3 separate regions of the Homo sapiens genome follow, and regions 2 and 3 are each linked to region 1. Evidence: promoter capture Hi-C in human tissues and cell types (Jung and others, 2019). All regions are on one chromosome and are shown on one strand. Each heading gives the region's core, a stretch centred on a gene start or on the middle of the fragment in contact. The rest is flanking DNA. Distances are from core to core; before and after follow the strand shown. Region 1 holds the start of ZNF248 (zinc finger protein 248). Region 2 overlaps ZNF37A (zinc finger protein 37A). Region 3 overlaps LOC105376500 (a long non-coding RNA gene).

Region 1 (2,700 bases), core at 7-2,506:
AGTTTAAAAAAGTGGACAATGACCCAGGAGTTGATTTTTTAAATGAAAAGTTGTAACACACGCACATGCTCATAGTGTGCTGAAAATGCCAGATGTGCACGTAAAAGAATGTACGTGTAGTGTAGTTCTGGGTAAAGTATGGTTGGTTTTGGGAAATGAGTGCGTGCTTTCTTCTTCAAATTTGTTACTCAAACGGCTTTTTTTTTTTTAAACATATAAACAATTTTATGTTTGGGTCTTGAATTGCTAGCTTCTGTTTTTCCTTATTCCAGAGAATAACCATACTGGTCACAGATTTTAGTTTTCTCTTCCAGTCTTTCAGTTAAACGTTACCATGCATGATCGTGAATGAATTCAAGCACACCTTTCCTTCTCTTGGCTTGTGTCTAACAGGCACATTGATTTGATCCACAACCTCTGGGGACACTGACAGAATCCTGGTTCCAAGCAGGAGTGGGTAACTGAGACAGTAATCTCTCAACCCACTATACAAGGCTGTTTTGCAGGAGAGCCTTATGATGACCAGCATGATATATAATTGTGAGAAATATACTGAACAATTTATGTGTCAGACACCGGTTTAAATGCTTTTACAACGTAAGCGCCTCCAATTCTCATAAAACCCCTGCTAGGTAGGCACTATCAGCCTCATTTTACAACTGAGGGTTGCGGCCAGAGCTGACAGGCACCGTCTAGCGCCGCTTCCAAGCCCCGCATCGCATCCACCAGCCTAACTCGGGCGCTCGGCCTCTCCCTCTGCGCATGTGCATCCCCGCCTCCCGCTCCAGGCGAGTCCTTCCCTGGACTCCAGTCCCTTGTGGGAAACAATCCCTCGCCTCCGGAGGCGGCGAGGAGCGGCGGGTGAGCCCCGGAGCACTGGGCGAGGGCCAGGGGGTCCCCGCGCTGCCCTGAAGGCGGGCGGGCGGCGGCTAGACCTCGGCGGTGGGGAGGGACCCCTGGCGCCTGCGGCGACGGTGGGACGAGGGCGTCTCTGTCAGAAGGGGATGAGGTCTGGCGTGGGAACGCGAGTTCCGGGGCTCCCGGGGGTCCGTATGCGTCCAGTCCCTGCGCCTGGCGCTCAGCGAAGTCCTGTAGCACGGGGTAGGCAATGCGCACTGGCCCGAAGGGGAGGGAACTGGCTGCGGGGAGGGGACAGCACGCGCGTGCGTAGCGTGTGACGTTTGTTGTGCGCGTGCGCATGGCGTTTGATGTGTGCGTGTGCGCTTTTTGTGCCCTGAGCCCGCGGGGAGGAGGCGGGGCTGCGGGGGAGAGCGACTGCGCCAGGTCCGCGACAAATGAATTAGACACAATTATCCACGGGAGACTCGGTTTTCCTCTCTGTAAATTACGGATATTAGGAATACTTGCCGCCTGGGGTTGTTTTGAGCACTTTCATTGTTTAGGTGCTGTATTTATTGGGTGTGCGTTCCCTGGGAGAGCCCGAGGGAGACGGCTCCTGCACCGGCCCCAAGGGCCTCTCTGCCCGTGGAGTGCAGGAGCGAAGGGGCTGGCCTAGCTGACCACCAGGGCCCCTGCTGGCTCTGACCGCCCTCCTATCCCAAGTAATTATTTACACGTTTCGCGTTCGCTTATGTATTATGTGTAATCATGGCACAGTATCCTGAAGCCGTCGGAGTCTGTGTGCTGGTGCAAGGTCTGGGACAAATTTAAGAAGAGAGAGGTGAGCTGGAGCTGAGGGGTGGGCGCGCAGGCTAACAGGAACGTCACCTCTGGAGAGTCTGAGGGCAGGGACGGGTGAAAGGCTCACGGCCACAGCGAAAGAAATGCTGTTATCACCCCTCCGCGAACACCGGGCACATCCAGATGAGCTGCTGAGCTTCCTCCTCTCTTGGCCTGATATCCCCGCCGGATGGTAGTGCAGTCAGGTCATACTTGGGTTATCTGTTTTGACCTTATTTGAAAGATGGAAAAACAAAATTGAGTTTGAGGAGGTGAGTAGTTCAGATCTTGTCATTCCTTAGAGGCAGAACTGAGATTAGAAGTCAAGTCTGCAGTTTCCCGAGCCACTGCTGCCCATTTTGTTACTCTATATCACAGTTTCTCATTAAAAGATCCTTTTGAGGAATTGTTAGCAAGTTAGAACAAACATTTTTAAACTTGCATTTAACATCCTATCCCTTTTTTTAGAGGTCTTTTGCATTATCTAACCTCAGGGCATTAATGGTGTTAACAGGTAAACAGATAAACAATATGGCCTCAGTTTTTTTTTTTCCCTACAAGGAATTTTGACAAACCCATAGTGTTTTTTCCTTCAGATTACTGTTAACTTGTTAAACTCATCTTTTCATGTTTTTAATTTTTCTGTGTCACAGAACCTAAATTGGTAATAAATCAATAAGAAATATTTACATTCACTCAGTGAAAAGTGTCATGTCTGAGCTCAGCATATATCGGAGCCACACATGGACACGTAAGTATCTTGTGTGTGGACCTGTATAGGCAGGTGAATCTCCGAACTGCAAGGCCGGCGAAGGCTCTCCTGACATTCTTCCTTTCTAATCCTTCAGCTCTCCTTCCTCCACTAAGAGCGGAAAATGAACAAATCCCAGGTGAGATTCTTGTTTCTTTATTCCCAGTTTGTTTAAAAATGGATTTCTGAAGTTTATAAGGGTTTATGTTTTGAAAATGGAAAAATAGAAATAGGCAAAAATTGACATTAAGGGAAATAAAACTGAAGTA
Region 2 (2,700 bases), core at 127-2,626, 260 kb before region 1:
GTCTTCTCAGATGTTCTGTGAAACCGGAGTAGTAGCAGAAAAATTTTCCACACTGAATACATTCATAAGGTTTCTCACCTGTGTGAGTTCTTAGATGTTTAGTAAGGGTTGACTTCTCAGAGAATGACTTCCCACATTCATTACATTCATAAGGTTTTTCACCTGTGTGTATTCTTTGATGTTTAATGAGGTCTGATTTTCTGAGAAAGGCTTTCCCACATGCATAGCATTCATAGGGCTTCTCCCCTGTGTGTGTTTTCTGATGCACAGTAAGGACTGACTTAAATGAGAAGGTTTTCCCACATTCATGACATTCATATGGTTTCTCCCCTGTGTGCGTTCTTTGATGTTGAGTAAGGGTTGACTTTTCACTGAAGGATTTCCCACATTCATGACATCCATAAGGTCTCTCCCCTGTATGAATTCTTTGATGTTTAATGAGGTCTGAATTCTTATAGAAGGTCTTCCCACATTCATGACATTCATAGGGTTTTCCCCCTGTGTGTGTTCTCTGATGTCTTGTGTGGGCTGACTTCTGGGTGAAGGTTTTTCCACATTCATGACATTCATAAGGTTTTTCTCCTGTATGTGTTCTCTGTTGTAAATGAAGGACTAATTTTTCACTGAAAAATGTTCCACACTCATTATATTCAATAATATTGTTAATTGAGTGGGTTCTCTGAATTGGAGTGAGATTTAACTTCTGGCTGAATGGGTAAACACTCTGATGTTCAAGGAGAATGGATTCCTCAAAGATATTTTCTCCACATTCATTACCATAGTGGTTTTCTCTTGGATGTGTTTGCTGATGAGTGATGAAAAATGACATATCACAGGTTTTCCCATGTTCAGTATATTTGCAGGTTTTCTGTCCTGTGTAACCTCTCTTATGTACAAGGAAGAGTGAATTCTCAGGGAAAGCTTTCCCACATTCATTGTATTCAAAAGATTGTTCCCAATTTTTAATTTTCTGATGCCAAATGAGGTCTTCATTCAGCCAGAAGCTGTTCCCATTTTTATTATATTCAGAAGGTTCCTCTTCAGAATGAATTATTTCATGCTTTTCATCACAGAAACATTTTCCACCTTTGTTAAACTCATTGAACTTCATTATTGAATAGTTTCTACTGGTATTAATTAATTCTGAAATACAGAGTGAAAAGAAAGGTTAGTTGACGAGGATATGTAAGAGAAATAAACTTAGCATTATATTTGAAGGCATGGCTCAGTTTAGGCCATTATCTCCTCATACCTATGTTATGACAATGTGCACACTTCCAGTCTTATACCTCTTTTCAAGTCAACACAGCAGCAACAAATTAAATTTCTAAAAGTTCTAATTCATAGTCCTATAATCCAGGCTCCAATTCTGTGTGGTTTTGTTGTTCTTGGTTGTTGTTGGTGGTGGTGGTGGTGGTGTTTTTGAGACAGAGTCTTGCTCTGTCATCCAGGCTGGAGTGTAGTGACGTGATCTCGGCTCACTGCAATCTCCGCTTCCTGGGTTCAAGTGATTCCCATGCCTCAACCTCCCAAGTAGCTGGGACTACAGGCATACGCAACCATGCTTGGCTAGTTTTTATGTTTTTAGTAGAGACAGGATTTTGCCATGTTAGCCAGGCTGGTCTTGAACTCCTAGCCTCAAACAATTCATCCACACTGGCCTTCCAAAGTGCTGGGATTACAGGCATGAGCCACTGCACCTGGCTCAATTGTTTTTCTAGCTCTGATTCACTAGAAATAAAAGTATGCAACAATAAGAGTGAAATCAGTGAGTGAACAAGCCATCCTTGCCACAGGATCAGGTTTATGGTTCTATTCCAGCTGTGGGATTTGCCCTTTATTTCATCAACTGTCCTATACTATACTGAGTCCAATGTCCCAAGAACAAACACTTTTTTTTTAAACAAGGTATCACTGAAGTAAACATATCTTTACATTTAGATTCAGATTAGAACCAAGCCATTCTTTTACAAGTCTAGAGTGAATATATTTCGCTCTAGGTAAGTTCAGCTGTTTGTCCCTCATAAATTGCTCATTCCCATCATAATCTCATACTGATTGTTTTTCCATTGTCAGTTTGCAGTCTAACAGTGTTTTTAAAAAGTTTCCTTCCCAAATTTCCCAGGTTCATTTACTAAAAAACATGAAAGGACTGTTTTTATAATTCATTTAAGCACAAACATCAGCTGGATTGCTATAACAATATTCTTTGTTAAACACTGAATTTTAAAATATTTCATGCAGTTCTGTTTTTGTTCAACAACTATGTTCCTGGCAGCCATTACTTTACCTATGATTTTCTCTCAGTGCCCTATATAGATATTTAAATCAATGGTACTTAACAAATAATGTTTATCAGTATTATCCGGAGAGCTTTTTCAAACACAAATTTTTTCAGGCTTCACGCTGAAATCGTTACTGGTTGAATGTGTAATTTTAATTTTAATTGCTTTTTATTTTTTAGAGACAGAATCTTGCTCTGTCACCCAGGCTGCAGTGCAATGGCACAAACACAGTTAACTGCAGCCTCTTCCCAGGCTAAAGCAAGACTGTCACCTCAGCTCCCCAGTAGCTGAGATCACAAAAATTAGCCAGGCATGGGACCACAGGTGTGTGCCACCATGCCTGGCTAATTTTTTAAGTTTTCATAGAGATGGGGTCTTCTTATTTTGCCCAGGCTGGTCTCAAATTCCTGGGCTG
Region 3 (2,700 bases), core at 49-2,548, 310 kb before region 1:
CTCCAGACACACACCAGTGTTCTGAACTGCAGGCTGCTGCCCCATCCTATGGCAGAATAGACCTTTTCTCCACCAGAATTGCCCTGTTATCCAGTTGAACGAAATGTCTTTTTAACATAGAAACAGGGCACAGAAACTAGTGTTCCTTGGCTCTGAACCCCATCACACTATCTGCAGGTAAACACCCGTCCTTAGCAAATACCATACATTTGAGAACTCAGTCCCTGGAGTGTGGTCATTGGCTCTGCTTTCAGAAAACATCAAGGTACTTTTGGCAGCTCTGCAGATTTCATGAAGAAAAGCAAAAACATAAAACCAACTGATGAACACACACACACACACACACACACACACACACACCCCGCAAAGTGACTAACAGGATGTCCCTCCAGGACATTTGCAGAGAGGGGAGCAGAAAACATCCCAGGGCCCTTTCACAGCTACTTCCTTGAGCCCATTTTCAGACAGTGCTGTCTAGACCTGTCTCAGCCCAAGCACCTGGCAGTATTCAGGAGCTGGCTCCCTTACCTGAAATTCAACATCAAGAAATGATCTCTTGGCTGGGAGTGGTGGCTCACGCCTATAATCCCAGCATTTTGGGAGGCTGAGGCGGGTGGATTGCCTGAGGTCAGAAGTTCGAGACCAGCCTGTCCGACATGGTGAAACCTCACCTCTACTAAAAATACAAAAACTAGCCGGGCATGTTGGTGTGCCCCTGTAATCCCAGCTACTCGGGAGGCTGAGGCAGGAGAATCACTTGAACCCGGGAGGCAGAGGTTGCAGTGAGCCGAGACTAGGCCATTGCTCTCTAGCCTAGGCAACAAGAGCAAAACTCTGTCTAAACAAAAAAAAAAAAGAAAGAAAAAGAAAAGAAACAATCTCTTCTACTTAACATTGACAGGAATGTCCTCAAGCAGTGTCCTCATTGGCAGGGGTGGAGAGTTTCTTAAAAAGTGAGGTCTCTGCCCACCACCTAGAGAACCTGGAAATTTCCATCAATGCCACAAAGTCCAAATCACTGGATACTGCTCCAATGTATGGCAGATTAGACCATCTCTCCATTAGATCTGGGTTTCTATTCCATTGAATGAAATGGCTTTTCTATTACTGTGTCAGGATAAGGGAGAAAAAGGGTTTTACAACTGAACTCCAGTGTACAGTCTGCACAGACACAAGGCTTGTGCAAATATGACACAGTAAGGCCCCAGGACCCTTGAGCCAGCTGAATGCACTGAGTTTCAGGAAACAGATACATTCAGCAAAACAGTGGGCTTCATGCTGAAAGAAATCAAGCCAAGAACACACACATCACTCTGACACACACACACACACACACACACACACACACACAGACACATATTCAGACACCTTAGTGGCCAATAGGTCCTCTCACCAGGAACCCGCAGACAGGAGAGCAGAAAGCCTCCCAGGGGTCCATTACTGCACTTTCTGGGAAGCTTTATCAGATGGCCAGCCCTAGGACAGCATTGTCTTATCCTCATCCAGCACAAACTGCCATCACCCTCTGATGTGAGAGCTGGCCTCCTCAGCAGAACCTCTGTCAGATAAATTTCTTTTTTTTAAATCATGAGGGGGAAACTTCAGACAGTGTCTTGATCAGGGTGGGTGGAGAGGGGGGTTTCCTAGAAAGGCAGGGCAGGGCTGAAGCCCTCTGGGTTAGCTGTGGGCTTTTGATATAAAGGCAGATAAGACTGGACAGGTGGGGGAGTTAGCGAGGGGATGGACTGGGGTGTGCTGAAGAACTCCAGTTGGGAGGGTTCTGTTGCTATAACAGAGTTCCTGAACCTAGGTAACTCATAAAGAACAGAAATTTATTCTCTCACAGTTCCGCAGGCTGGGAAGTCCAAAATCAAGAGGCCTCTGGAGAGGGTATTCCTACTACATTCTCACATGGAGGTAGGTGAAAGGGAGAGAGGATGGATGTGATGTGCTCACATGACAGAAGAGTGACAAAAAGTAAACCCAATCCATCAAGCCTTTTTTATACTTATATAAGACATAACTATTTTATATGTATATAAAAAGTAACATCCCCCTCATCTACTGCAGGGTAGTAGATAACACCCACATATGGGAAATGCAGAATAGATAAATAATTTATTCTTTCTTTTATCAGTTTTCCAAATAAAAAGTGCCTTTTTGACCTAAACACCTCCATTAGGCTGCAGCTCCCAACACTGCTGTCTTAGGGATTAGAGTTCTAACAGATACATTTTGAGGGATACATTAAGACCATAGCAATTGTAAAACCAAAGAGTATCTGAGCCAGGTCTCAATCAGTGTAGAAGTTTATTTTGCCAAGGTTAAGAACATGCCCAGGAGAAATAAACACAGAATCACAGACACAGTCTGTGGTCTGTGATTTTTCTCTAAAGATGATTTTGAGGGCTTCAATATTTAAAAAGGAAAAGTGACCTAGAGAGGAAACAGGAAGTGTGTGGTGATCCTCATGTTGCAAGAGAAAAGGAGCACGTAGGGAAATAGTCAATTATGTACTGATCTTATGCTCAATAAATCAGCACTTGATTAGATAAGATGAACAGGGTAGCTACCTGTGGAAATGTTTAAACTTTTATCTGTAACTGCTTACAAAGCCAAGGAAAGGCAGCTTCTTTCATGACTCAGCTTTCAGCTTAATTTTTTTCTTTTGGCATAGGAAATTGGGGTCCCCAATTTTTA

The links. The method cuts DNA at HindIII sites, captures the fragments that hold promoters and counts their contacts. A contact is called where the count stands out against the background at its distance.
Region 2: a contact is called between a fragment that was not itself captured here and the fragment with the promoter of ZNF248 in region 1, in 2 of the 25 tissues and cell types used here (H1 embryonic stem cells and mesendoderm cells).
Region 3: a fragment that was not itself captured here is called in contact with the fragment with the promoter of ZNF248 in region 1 in 1 of the 25 tissues and cell types used here (spleen).

The regions. Positions count from the first base shown.
Region 1 is chr10:37,856,166-37,858,865 of GRCh38, reverse strand. ZNF248 (zinc finger protein 248) reads left to right here and starts at 1,256. Exons shown (of 6, transcript NM_021045.3): 1 at 1,256-1,681; 2 at 2,334-2,431; 3 at 2,529-2,570. The coding sequence starts at 2,556. It overlaps ZNF248-AS1 (ZNF248 antisense RNA 1), which reads right to left and starts at 1,117. Exons shown (of 2, transcript NR_186559.1): 1 at 365-1,117. RefSeq lists silencers at 764-1,313, 1,010-1,386 and an enhancer at 1,704-1,763. The HindIII fragment of the contact is 12,949 bases long and covers 1-2,700 here.
Region 2 is chr10:38,115,833-38,118,532 of GRCh38, reverse strand. It overlaps ZNF37A (zinc finger protein 37A), which reads right to left. Exons shown (of 8, transcript NM_001324250.3): 8 at 1-1,143. Among named protein-coding and RNA genes, the nearest start is that of ZNF37A, 23 kb to the right of the region's middle. The HindIII fragment of the contact is 8,527 bases long and covers 1-2,700 here.
Region 3 is chr10:38,163,566-38,166,265 of GRCh38, reverse strand. It overlaps LOC105376500 (a long non-coding RNA gene), which reads left to right. Exons shown (of 3, transcript XR_930832.3): 2 at 1,847-1,917. Among named protein-coding and RNA genes, the nearest start is that of ZNF37A, 71 kb to the right of the region's middle. The HindIII fragment of the contact is 4,379 bases long and covers 1-2,700 here.